Linked DNA regions of Homo sapiens: region 1 is linked to region 2. Evidence: promoter capture Hi-C in human tissues and cell types (Jung and others, 2019). All regions are on one chromosome and are shown on one strand. Each heading gives the region's core, a stretch centred on a gene start or on the middle of the fragment in contact. The rest is flanking DNA. Distances are from core to core; before and after follow the strand shown.

The links. Contacts are between HindIII fragments. The study calls those that stand out against the background at their distance.
Region 1: a fragment that was not itself captured here is called in contact with the fragment with the promoter of F13B in region 2 in 2 of the 25 tissues and cell types used here (mesendoderm cells and thymus).

The regions. Positions count from the first base shown.
Region 1 is chr1:197,117,002-197,123,732 of GRCh38, forward strand. ASPM (assembly factor for spindle microtubules) reads right to left here. Exons shown (of 28, transcript NM_018136.5): 14 at 5,387-5,594; 15 at 5,158-5,300; 16 at 4,914-5,042; 17 at 788-982. Among named protein-coding and RNA genes, the nearest start is that of ASPM, 26 kb to the right of the region's middle. The HindIII fragment of the contact is 6,426 bases long and covers 1,958-6,731 here.
Region 2 is chr1:197,061,914-197,069,415 of GRCh38, forward strand. It overlaps F13B (coagulation factor XIII B chain), which reads right to left and starts at 5,347. Exons shown (of 12, transcript NM_001994.3): 1 at 5,247-5,347; 2 at 944-1,144; 3 at 1-56. The coding sequence starts at 5,310. RefSeq lists an enhancer at 6,455-7,502. The HindIII fragment of the contact is 20,654 bases long and covers 3,028-7,502 here.

The sequences.
Region 1 (6,731 bases), core at 3,921-6,420, 55 kb after region 2:
GGCATTTATTTTGTGAAAAATCATTAGGCTCTATATTTTTATTTTGGGTAATTTTCTATGTGTAATATTTTACATGTTAAAAAAAGGTTAAAAAAGACAATTATTTAAGTCAGAGAACCCTCATTTATCAATAATGGTAGCCAGACACAAAAACTTTCAAATTCATAAATCAGATATATTGATGGGGTGAAGCTTCAATGGCATTTATAAATAGTAAATTTAAATAATGCACATCTCTCATGTCATTAAAATATAATTTAATATAAAAAAACTAATTTACATAGATGTAAAGACTATATTAAGTCAGTATTATATATTTTTTCCTAAAAAGAAAAATAATATAGGTATTCTATAGACTAATTATAAGTACTATTTCCTTTACATGCCAACTAAGTGGAGTAGAGAGAAAAATGTGTACAGTTGTCCCAAAGAGAAGTTTCCAGGACTCAAAGCAAAGATAAAAAAGAACCTGGTTGGTTATGTGGATCTACAAAGTAGAATGGTTCAGTAGGCCAGCATGTCCCACAGCGTAGAAGACGCAACAAAGAAGAGAGCAACAGGTACAGAATTAGAATGTTTGCTTTTTCAGAGCAAATGCATTTCAATTATGTTTCAGCCTTCTGCTGAACACCATAACGAGCTTTTCAGGTAGTAAATATTTGTTAAATTAAGTATTAGATAAAGAATCCTAAAATATAATCATTGAAAACTTCATCACATTTTGCCTTCTTACTTAAAAAAGTCATTAAAATTTTTTAAATTCAAAAATTAGTCCAGGATACTATACCTGAATAAGTGATGCTGCTTTATTTTGAACTTTTTCCAGCTTTTCCTTTTTTAACATTAATAATTTTCTCTGTGCTAAGACTCTTCGCCAATATTTCTGAATGACGAGTGCTGCATTAACTCTTTTTCTCAATCTTTGTTTTGCTAGAAAATTGATTACAGCCAATTGAATAATTCTTGCAGCTTTCTCTCTCTCCTAAAATAAAAAAGTCAGCAAATGTAAATTAAACACTCACTTAAGACCTTAAATTATTCTTTGTAAGATAACCATATGTTAAACACCAATCAAATTGATACTGGAAATAAAACACCCCTACACTTCTTGTGTTCATCTTTGGAATACTGATAATTCCAGGCATGTCGAAAGCGCTGATAGGTGGGCTTGCAGATATTTTGTATGATGAAACAAAGATTCCTAAGAAATAGTCTAAGATAAAGATTAGACATGTTTGATCTATCACAGATCCTCAGTAATCAAGATAAAGGCCATTTGAAGTGTAATGTGGTATGTTTCTCAGATTCAGGTCCACTGAATTCATGATTAACTTTTAGGAAAGGGGAGGATTGTATGAAAAAAAGAATGTGTTAGAGAATTGTAACAATTTGAACAAAGCAAAACACTAAAGGGGAGAAACAAAATACCTCCTCCTTTAGCACAGAATACATTGTGGCCTTAGGTCATACAAGCTGAAGAGGAAAAAGTATAGTTTGGGCTATGAGAAGTGGTATCTGAGATGCCCAACATTTGTGGTCAAAGAGGACCCAGCTCCCTAGTTATGTTAGAAGGCAATACCCCCCATATCTCTACTTGTTACTTCTGATAATAAATTGCTGTAAATAATAACATATTCTATGTCCAGCACCATTCTGAACACTTCATGAACAATCCATTTAAATCTCACAACCACCACCATAAGAACAAATGAGCAAATACTACTCTTACGATCACTAGAAAACTGAGGCAATGAGGTCAATTAGCTTGTTAGTTTATTGGTAATATAGCCAGGATACGAATCAGGCAGTTTGGCTTTAAAGTAACTTTGCTATACTGTCCAATACTAGATTTCTCAATTTACTTCACTGGAATTGGAGACTAGAAAATGAACTATTTCCTCTGGTGGGAAGGAATAACTTATGGCAGGGATGTCTGGCAGCTTTTTGTGTTGCTGTCTGGGACCGTCCACCATGCAAGGGTAGGCTCTACACAGAGATTAGCTATAATTCCAATTATTAATTAATAACAATCAGTGGTTGGTATCTGTGCATGAAAATTGTGCAATAGGGGAAACAACTATGGAAATAATCAAACTGTTATTTTTACATATAAAAAAGGTGACCAATAGATTGAAACATAAATACTAAGGAATGGTAAGTGCTATATATTGGATCATTCCTCTGGGGAGAAAGAGTAGACAATTCCAAAATCGGGCTAGGGGAATTATGTATATAACAAGTTGATTAAGTCATCTAACACCATTATCAATGCCCTTGTGAAACCTATGGGCTTTAGGACTGTAGAGGCTCAAGTTAAAAGCACAACCCTGTTACAGTAAATAAATAAATACACAAATAAAATTTTCAAATGTTGCAGTTCAGAAGTATATTGCATTTGAGACAAAAGTTGTAAGGGTCAGGGCATTCATGGACAAAATAGGCTAAAGTAAATTGTAACTTATCTCAGTTTTTAGATCATCTCTATAGAACTAAAATACAACTTTACATGCCATTAGAGAATTTAAAGATGGAAAGTAAATAAATTAGAAGAGGCAAATATATTACCAAATTTAGCAAGTATTTGAAAATTACATATACTGATGATAAAAGTTTCCATGTATGGTCATTGACCCTTTTTAATCAGACTGTTGTTGAGTCAGCCAGGTACCAGCTTATTTCTTTTATCTTGCCTCATATATATAGGGCCAAATTCTAGGACTTCTTTTGCTTTGGAGTTTATGGCTATTTGTTGACAGGAAGAACTGAGAGCTGTAATGTACCAGGGGATGCTTCAATAGTTCATCAGGTAATTTTAGCTACTTGACAAAGTTTCTTTGTCATAATAAAAGTTTGAGCCACTCCATTAATAGATTTATATGAATTATAACATAAAAGCAAAATATAAAACCTGAAAAATAGCTATCTCAAGTTAATATGTTTAGTAGCTTGCAATAACATAGGGAGCCTGCTGCTTAATGTTCTAAATAGAAAACGGAAAGATATAATTGGATGTGAGGTAATTGTATAAAAGAGGGAGTATGGTCACCAAGAAAAAGGAGAGAAACAGTGGTCTGACTGGGTCCAAGAAGTTTAACCATAAGTATAGAAACTTCTCTTAATTCTTCAAAAAAACTTCTCTTAATCCTTCAAAAAAATGGAAACTTCTATTTGCATTAAGGAAATAAATCAAGAAAAGGGATCTCACTAGCAAAAAGCTGAGAAAATTCTACAGTTAATATCAGACTAAGGCTGGGTGCAGTGGCTCATGCATATAATCCCAGCACTGTGGGAGACAGAGTCAGGCAGATCACTTGAGGCAGGAGTTTAAGACCAGCCTAGGCAATGGGGTGAAATCCTGTCTCTACAAAAAATACAAAAATTAGCTGGGTGTGGTGGCATGCACCTATAATCCCAACTACTCAGGAGGCTGAGGCACAAGAATGGCTTGAACCCAAGAGACAAAATCTGAAGTGAGCCAAGATCGTGCTATTGCACTCCTGCCTGGGTGACAGAGTGAGACCTTGTCTCCAAAAGAAAAAAAAAATCTGATTAATACAAGGCTATCTTGAGCAGAAAATAAAAGCAGAATACATATATATCTATCTCTTGTAATTCTAAAACTCTCATTTAATGCAATATACAATGGGTGAATCAAATAGCTTGAGGACTGGCCAGGGGAGACACTTTTCTGAACTCTTCCAATTCCCCTAGAAGTATTGGAAGCTTCTAGGGGAATTGCTTTAGGAAAGTTTTCAGGAAGTTATTCTCCAAGTGATATGTAGGCAGGGAGGCAGATCCTGAGTTTAGGGGCACTATAGGGCACACAGCATATACAGTAGCAGAAAAGACCATTTGTGAGTGTTAAGACCCTGCCTATTTCCCAAACTTTACTATGAAGAGTTTGAGTAGGGGAAAAGAAAATTATTTCAATTAGTCTTATTTCCAAGTCTGGTGTGAAATGAAAAAACACATATTGTGTTTGAAAGTTGTCAAAATTTATCTGTTTTACACAGCTACCAAGAACTTTATCACAGATGCATTATATTTCAAAGTTGAGAAGGAATATTGGGTGGAATGTATTTCTGAAATATTTATGATAAATTTTACCAGGCATGGATGCTTGTTTTATTTTATTTTTTTTGGTTTTCCAAATAAATAAACACAATATTAGTTAGTAGATGGAATAGGGTGACAAAAAGAGTGAAATAGTTTGTTCAACTTGATCAAGGAGGCCGTTTCTTAGATTATTAAAAATAACAATTTTCTCAGAACTTAAGAAAAAAATTTTTTACATTAATGAAATTTTTGTACTATTGGGGTCACAAAGGGAAACAATAAATAACATCTCTATTCTCATGCCCAGATCCTAACATTTTGAAAAATTAATAGCAGAAACCAAAATACCACTTTTAAAACTAATAAAGGATAAAGTAGAAGACAGCTTCATGGCAAACAAACTAAGCTTACTAGTTAAATCACAAAATCAGACACTTGATGCTCAGGCCCAGGCAGCACTAGTTGAGGTCAAGCCTCATACAGCACAGAATAAAAAATTAATGGAAAGCTCCTGCTCTCCAGAGGCAGGTTAGATTCCAACAGGAGGAAAGGAAGAGCTGAGTCAATGTGAGCTATGTATTCCTCACAAATTTAAAAAGCAGATTAAGTTATTCCTCTTCCCCTGGAACAGACTAGGTGAAGGGGTGGACAGACTGGAAGATACATCAAATGAAGGGAATATTAGCAATTAGGGAGAAATACTCATACCTCCCCAACCCAAAATACATATACACAATTACTAAATTTATCTTAATAATGCCATACATCCATAAAATGTAAAATCATATCAAAAATCAATCAACAAATACCTTCTAAAGTATAATTCACACTATAGTAGTTTCATATTCTAGGAGTACCTGATGGCGTTTGAGATCTGTTTTTAGTTTATATTTTCTCCATGTTGTTTGTATGAGTCGAGCAGCTCTTATTTCTTTACGAAGATCCAAAAGCCTTGCACAAAGAAATGACAAATAGGTAATAACCACCTAAAAAAAACCCACAAAAGATAAAAACAGAATATCAACAGAGAATACAGTACTTACTATCATCTTCTGAGACTTTATTATTGAATTAATAATTAGAAACTCTTCTTTTACTTACCTTTTCATCTGGAATTGTATTTGACATATCTGAATGATTAATCATAGCAGGTATTCCACCAAGGTCTCTAACTGCAGACCTAACCAAGTGAAAATTTTTCTTTTCATTTTCTAGGAGCTCTTTGTATAGCTCTGAAGTATTTTCTATTATGCAGGAGGAAAGGAGAAATTAGCCGTAGCTTCAAATCAGACATGGCAAAAAATTGGAAAAGTAACCAAAAGGGACTAACCATGATCAAATGCTTTAAGAGACATATCCAGAGAACTGTCATCAGATTCAGATGATGAATTTAATACCACTGAACCAGTTTGCGTACATTCCACAGTTTGAGTAGTACGCTGACATATAGCGTCAAATGGCACATAGCAAGGATGGTAATGGTGGATCAGGTAACATAACACACGGCCGTCTGAGAAAGACACTGTAAAATTCTCCACCTGATTGAAAATGCCAGAAAAACAATTAACCGCATTTAGAAAGTAGTATAGACATAATGGTTTGCAGAATACCTGTGAATAATAAAGGCAGAGACTGGAGTGACAAATCTACAAGGCAAGTAATGGCAAGTTTGACTGGTAAACTCTAAAATTTAAAAGAAAAAAATAAAAGAGTATCCCCTAGAACTTTATGTGAGAGCATGGCACATCCAACACCTTGATTTCAGACTTCTAACCTCTGGAACTGTGAGAGAATAAATTTCTACTTTAAGCCACCTAGTTTGCTGTAATTTGCTATGGTAGTCTTAGGAAACTACAACAACAAGCAATGAGAGTGGATTCTCGTTATTTGTGAATATTGAACCATTGCATAGAGGAGAAATATAAGGTTAGTGTCCTGTGAGCCTCTGGTTATAATATGTTTATCAACCAATCCGCACATAACCTTGTTCACAGGTGTTTCTGATTCAATAACACTAACTCATGGCCAACAGCATTATAATTCACGCCTGCATTAAAATTAGTTAACGCATATATTTTCTGTATACGGCACATCACAGTCTTCTCCTAAGAACACTAGACAGGGCTTCATTACTACACTTGAAAGCCATTTTAAACAGGGAACTCACCAACAAAAAGCACAAAAATGCAAAAAAGTACAATGCTAAATAGGTCCTGAAAAGGACGCTTGTTTACAGTATAAGAGCTGAAACAAAAAGAGCACCACCTTGTTTGACATCAGCTGGCTATGAGGGCCCAGGCATTCACACACGTCAATAAATGACCACAAAATACTGCAACTACTAATTTTGGCATTAAAAAGAAATTTTAGCTAGTATGCAAATTCCAAATATGGAATTAATTAATACCGATGATCAACTTTGGCTCTCTAGTATTTAGTTAAAACATAGAAGATTATCCATATGTTTAACAATTTTTGTACTAATAACTTCTTGGTATAATCATATTGCAAGGCTTACCATATTTAGCTATACATACTGTGTATCACTGTTTCTGTCTTATATTTATTACCAGATAGTTTATCCACGTGTTTAGGGGAAATTTTTTTCATATATTTACACTAAGAAGTATACTTCATACAGAAATACAGTGTTAACCTAACAAATGATTATAGAG
Region 2 (7,502 bases), core at 4,097-6,596:
CAATAACTTTACATCAGAGATGTAACCATTACTCAGGTCAGGCTTAGTGCATTTTTCTATGGGAAAAAAAATTATTTAACTTAATGATGAAACTAAGCTTGTCTTTTACTAAATTGTAAAATTAAGCCAAAAGTATAATGTTATTATTGGCGATTTCATTTTGGAAATATCTGCATAATTTTTTTGAAAATGGATTCAATTTAACACTGACTCTCTTTGTATTTACTAATTTTAGTTCTTATAGTAATTTCTACCCCTACCACATCTACTTCTAGATAGGTTTACTAGATATATCAACCACAATAGCCATATTCAACATCCTCTTTTAAACGAAACTGGCTCAACCAAAGCCCCTTACTCTGGGTCACCTGCCCTAGTGGAAGATCATTGATAGTTTGATGATAGTGTAGCCTGATATAAAATAATGAAATGAGTCAATTAGATTACCTTCTCACAACTTTGAACTCAAACTTTCAATTCAAAATTGAAAAACACATTTTTCAATGGGTATCATGAGAGAAGTTGGCACATGAAGAGAGATGAGTCTTACAAATGATAAAGCATTAGAGTAGCAATCTTGCCCTTCCAGAGGCCAGAGTTTCAAGCATTTTTCTGGCATCTTATGCTTAATTATCAAAATAAGTTTCTTGTTACTTAAAGTAAATTACCTCTCTTTGCCTTGCAATATGATAATTTCAGTTATTACCCTATTCCCTTCAACAGAGTATTATTAAAAACAGATACAGAAAATAACATTTTAATGTAAAAGCATTATTTACTGGATTTCAAATTATGCCTTCATTTTGTAGAAAGACAGATTGCTAGTGATTTTGTTCTTATCTACTAAAAGGTTTAACCGCTTTCCATTTTTATTGGACCCCTATTTTTATATACAAATTTCTTTGAGTATTGAAACATTGAGTGACATATCCAGCTGACTTACTGAAGCACCTTGGCTCTGGAGACCAGCCTTCTGTTGTACACGTGGTTTGCTCTTCTTGTCTTCCACTTTCAGTGGTATAACCAGCCAAGCAGAAAAATGACAATTTTTTGTCTATGCTCATTGGAAAGTAAAAGCTTTTAAAAGTATAGTAATATTGGGCAATTCTTCCATTTTCCACATGAGGAAAACCACAGGGTTTCTCTGAAATGAGTAAATGTCAAGCTGAAAATGGAAAAACAAATCTAAAAACATAAATTTGTAATCAGGTGACAATACAAACTAAAAGTTTTTAGAGACACTTCAACTAGTACTTATTTTTCTTACTTAAATTTTTAAGGTACTTTTGTGACAACTCAAGCAGTCCTTTTATCATAATTGATCTGCAAATGACTTTAAACATCCAACAGTCATGATAAAATTTAGCAGACCACTTTTTCAGGGAAGCTTTGCATAACTTCGTAGAACAGTACTTTTTTTTTTCTTCCTAGACACAGAGTCTTCCTCAGTTATCCAAGCTTCAGTGCAGTGCTGAAATATAGCTCACTGCCACCAGGAGCTCCTGGGCTTAAGCAAGCCTCCTCTCCTGTAGCTAGGACTGCAGGCACATGCCACCACATCTGGCTAATTTTTGTTTTATTTTTTGTAGAGATGAGGGGTCTCACTCTGTTGCTCACGCTGGTCTCAAACTCCTGGACTCAAAGGATCCTTCTGCTTTGGCCTCCCAAAGCACTAGGATTACAAGACTTGAACCACTCCACCCTGCCTGCACTTCCTAATAGATATGTATTGTAAGTCACTTATGTAATTTAAAAATTTCTAATAGTCACATTCATAAAAATACTAAGGAACAATTGAAGTTAGTTTTAATAATAGGTTTTTATTTAACCCAATATATTGAAAATATTTTACATTCTTTTTTTTTCTAACTCTTTAAAATCCACTACATATTTATACTTACAGAATATCTGATCTTGAACTAGTGACATTTTAAGTACTGTCTCCAATAGCTATATGTGGCTGATGGCCACTGTATTGGACAGTACAGTTCAGGAATAGGTAAAGTTTCTCCTTAACATATGCTAACTCATAAAAAATTTTGAAATAAATAGCATTAAAAGAAAAAACAGACAACCAAGTAAAACAAAGCAATACTTGGCAAGAACTTGGCAAAATAGGATATTTAAATGGTTAGAGACCTGGTACTTAGCATTACTAGTCATCAGGGAAATGAAAATTTAAACCACCATGAGATACTACTGCATATCCAATAGAACTGCTGAAATGAAAAAGACAAGCTATCTCAATGATTGTGAAGAAGTGAAGAAACTGGAACTCGCATATTTCTACAACTGAAAGTATAAATCAGTCCAAACTCTATGAGAGAACACCTTTGCAATATATATTGGGGTAAAACATGTACAAACCATATTACCCAATAAAAAAAGCACATATTTGTATACCAAAAGACATGGAAAAAAATGCTTATAGTGGCAGTATTCATATAGTCCCAAACTGGGAACAATCTAAATGCCCATAAATAATAGAAAAGATAAACACATTTTAGACTATGCATACAATGGAATATTATCCAACAACAGAAATGAACAAATGGTGAATCTCATAAACATAATATTGAGTGAAAGAAGCCAATCACATATGAATTAATGTATACATTTGCATAACTTTTTAAAAGAAAACAAACTAATCCATGATAATAGAAGTCAGAATGGTTACCTTTGGGGTTTAGTGCCTTAGAAGGATCATATTTCTGGGGTACTATCACTGTTCTATATCTTGATCTGGATGGTGTAAAATTTTGTAAAAACTATATAAGTGTATCCTGTGATTTTTGCATTTTTCTGGATATGTTATACTCCAAATAAAACATATATTTTAAAAATATATCTTTATGTTGAAGATCTTAAAGTCATAAAAACACTTAAAAGAAAGAAATGCTCGAACAATCCTAGGAGCTGTGGTGGGAAGAAACATGGGCAGTCATGGATGGAAGAAGGCCTAGATCCAGTGTGATTACTACGGCTTCAATGCCTTGGTTGATCACTGTATACCTTAATGCTACTATGAGACATAAAATACTAGTAGTGCTAGCCTAGGTTTGAAGGAAATGGATGTGGAATGATGAGCAACAAAACTTCCACTATCTGATGGAGCAGACAGAAAAACATGGGCTGGATAGTCCCCATTCCTTGAGAATTATTCTCACCATTTTTTCACACCCAAGCACCAAAGGAATTTACAATAAAAAGAGTCTTCCAAAATAGCAGTGCAATGGTGAATACACAAGAAATTTCCCTGAGGGGCACAGTTGCTTGTCAGGGAGGGGCAGCAAAGTATTCTCTGCACAACAATCCTAGGTTGTGGCTTTAAAGACTCTCTGTCCTGGGACATCTCCCTCCACCACCAGGATAGGCACATTATTTGTTAAGGTAGCTGGAATGCCTTGGAGAATATGAATTCCTGACAAAAAATTAATGAGAAATGTGAGGAATATACTAATCACATATAAACCAGGAAATCACAGATGTCTGAACATATTAAAAAAAGTACATGAAGCGATGGACACACTTACTACTGATCAGAGAATGGTAAATAAATAAAAATGGGATATCACTTTATGAATAACCATATAGCAACCAGTACAAAAATGGACAATATGAGGTGTTGGTGAGAATGATGAGGAGCAACAATTTACATCCTCTCTCAGAGATGATATACTTCAAAACTGCCATTCTGCAAAAGTAATCTCTCATTACAGAAATCAAGTACAAGAATAGACTCAATAATGCTATCTGTGAGTGAATACAGACTGATGACATTCTTACAGAAAGATAAGTTGGTTATATTACAATATTCATTCCAGAGCTATTTGTGGTTGAGAGAGCTAGAGTAACATGTTAAAACATTGTAGTAGGTCCCAGGGGAAATGGACTTCAAGATTAGGAATAAGGGGATAAAATGTGTAAGTAAAGCAAGAGTGAGACCTTTCATAGGCCAATAATACTTGCATACCATGAAATGAGAAACACAATTAATTCAATTCTTGTCCCTGAAGTGCACAATGGGAGTTGAGAGAAGCATGCAAAAATAAAATCATTGTCTTGGTCTTCAAGCAGCTTACTTTTTTTTTTGTTGTGTAAAATAGCATTATAACCTTATAATAATTAGAAAATTAACTAGAATATTGCAATGTCTTTATGGTATAGATAACAGACAATTATATCTGCTGGTATTTCCCTATTTAGACAGAAAAATAAAATCAAAAGAAATTCATGCAAAAATCATCCTATTATAGAATTAAAAGTATAAAATAAGATTAATTCTGTGTCTTTCACTTTTATAATTTTAATTATAGATGTTTTGGTAGAAAATTTATAGTTAACTATTCAACTAAAACACAGTTAAAACTTATGTATTTAATTTCAACAAATTCCCAAAAATGTTTATTTTAGAAAAGCTGTATTGCTGTAGCTTCCTTCTTTGTATGTTCACTCTTGCTAATGCTAAGTGTCCTCCCTGGATTCTTCATCCTATGGCCTGATAATATTGATAATGTTCCTGAACAACATACCCATGTACACTGCCTAGCTTCCACTCGCACACTAATCTTACACATTGGGCAATCTGACTATAAAGCTTTCTAATAGGGAGTCCATAGGTATTGGTTTGTTTGGAAAGTCCTGATTTACATGTGTTGTCCAAACAGTTATTAATAGAGCCCCTCTTTTACTCTCTAAGTGTCCCTGTTTGTACAAGCAATTATATGGTTCACCTACTAATCACTACTTAATGTCTCCAACAAATGAATAATTCATTGTGATAAAAATCAAAGTCTCAAAAGTAAAAAATATTTATGGCTATTTCCTTTTCAAATTTCCCACATTAAACTCTCACCTTATGAACAGAATTAAAATTGTACAAGTTTTGTCAGTATTAGGAATGGATTCTAGCATAAATTTAGAATTAAAGTTAACATGTGACTTCGAAATGGACATATTGTTAACCTGAAAACCTTTTCGAAGTATTTAGATCCTGGTCTCCTATGCCCCCTAGAGATACAAGGGTTTTTGTTTTGTTTTGCTTTTCTGACTTATGCTACTGTAAGAACACTTTACTAATTTTGCTCAAAGGAAAAGGTCTAAATATTATAAAAAGTTATATTTATAAAATATGTTATAAAATTGATAATGAAAATAGAAGAGTATATTAAAACTTGAGTTGTATAAATATTAGAATCTCCATTTGTATGTTTTAGAGAATAAAGAATATTAAGAATTAATTTTACCTTCTGCATAGAGTTCTCCTGAGATTATCAATATGATGATAAAAGTCAGGTTTTTCAACCTCATCTTCAGTGGTGTGCTTCACAAAGATTTTAACAATTCTAAGCACTAGGAACTTGTCATTAAGTACACAATACTTCTCTTGAGGAAAAAGTTAATAATTTATAACCTCTGTCTAAGTCCTTTTGTAACGAGTCTTATATTTCACTTAAAATATTTTGAAATAATGTTAAAATAACACAACTATATTAATTGACATTACTTACCATGTCAGAGTCCAGTAAGAGCATGATAACTGATTAGGGCAACAATAGCAGCAGAATAAATAATAAATTATAGCAGCAGAATAAATAATACTAGGTAAATTTTCAACCTAAGTTCCCAATTGTAAATTCATAGAGTAAAGTTCACTTGAGGCCATAGATCTTTACTAATATTGATCAGGTAAAAAGATGAACTTAGGAACATGAGATAACAGATACCTGATGTTGAAATATGTTGTTGCCTAGACTGCACTCCTTAAAGAGATACAGAACCATAGTTGTCTCAATGATAGAATAGTATTACTTATAATAGTAGTGTTTGACATTTAGAGAGTTTTTACTTTGTGGCAGGTGGTGAGATCAGCACTGTGCTATATCAACATTCATTCATGAGAAATGTTTAGAACGTCCATGATAATGGCAGCACATGTAACAGTTTTGAGGTATTTAGCAGTGAAAAAACTGGATTAAAATTATTGCCCTCATGGAGTTTACATTCTAATGAGTTTTAATTTAAAATACAAAATAGGAAAAAATGGTGGATAGGAGGCAGGACTAACTTGCAGCTCCCACTTGGATGGACAGAGCAGGATGTGGAGACTCGCATTGTGAACTTTTGCTCCAAGAACTGCTGCAAGGATATAACAGGAAAGCCAAGATAATCCACAGACCCTCTGAAGAAAGTATATTGCTCCTGCATGACCCAGAAAATAGCCCACATACTGTGAATGCCCAAACTGTGAAAAGTGTGAAAGGGGTATTGTCCACCCCTGAACACACACCCTTGGGGAACCTGAAGGTCTAGATCACAGGAGAAGGATTTGACCTTACCTGGAGCTCAGACAATTTAGAGAGCTGAGCGAAATACAGGGGTAGAGGAAGCAAAGGGTAAAGCCCCATCGTCTCTGTGGGTCCCCAGAGAAGCCATTTCTGACTTGTCTCACAGGGGCTGCCGGAGGAACTGGGAAAAGACCACAGGGAGAAGGAAACCTCCAGCTGAACTTAGTAACAATTCCAACCGAACACAAACTTTCCTGTCCAGAACTCAGGAAAGGGCGTGAATCTGGTGTGCAGACTTAACAGGTAGGGAGGCACAAAAGTCTGGCTTGCATTCTCAGCTGGGAGGCTAGTAGCCTGGGGCAAGTTCTCAATCCTGCTCCCCTACTGCCTGGAAACAAATTCGGTGCTTTTTGGGGGAACACAGTAGAAGTGAGATTTGCTTGTTGGGTTGTGTGAGAGCTGGGTGAGGTCTGTAACTGCCAGCTTTCCCCCACTTCCCTGACAACCTGCATGACACAGAAGAGGCAGCCATAATCCTCCTGGGAAGGTAACTCCATTAACCTGGGAATCACACCCCCATTCCCCACAGAGCCACAACAAGCCCCACCCAAGAAGACTCTGAGCTCAGACATGCCTAACCCTGCCCCCACCTGATGGTCCTTCCCTACCCACCCTGGTAGCTGAAGACAAAGGTCATATTCTCTTGGAAGTTCTAGTGTCCCACCCACCACCTGATCCTCCCCTATATACCACAGCTGATGCTCTCATGAAAGCACTACCTCATGGCAGTGTGTCTGGAATTGGTTCCTTCCAATGGGTTCTTGGTCTTGCTGACTTCAAGAATGAAGCTGCGGACGCTTGCGGTGAGCATTACAGTTTTTAAAGATGGTGTGTCCGGAGTTTGTTCCTCTGATGTTCAGATGTGTCCAGAGTTTCTTCCTTCTGGTGGGTTCCTGGTCTTGCTGACTTCAGGAGTGAAGCCGCAGACCTTCACAGTGAGTGTTACAGCTCTAAAAGATGGTGCGTCCGGAGTTGTTTCTTCCTCCTGGTGGGTTCGAGGTCTTGCTGACTTCAGGAGTGAAGCCACAGACCTTCGCGGTGAGTGTTACAGCTCATAAAGGTAGTGCAGACCCAAAAAGAGAGCAGCAGCAAGATTTATTGCAAAGAGCGAAAGAACAAAGTTTCCACAGCCTGGAAGGGGACCAGACCAGGTTG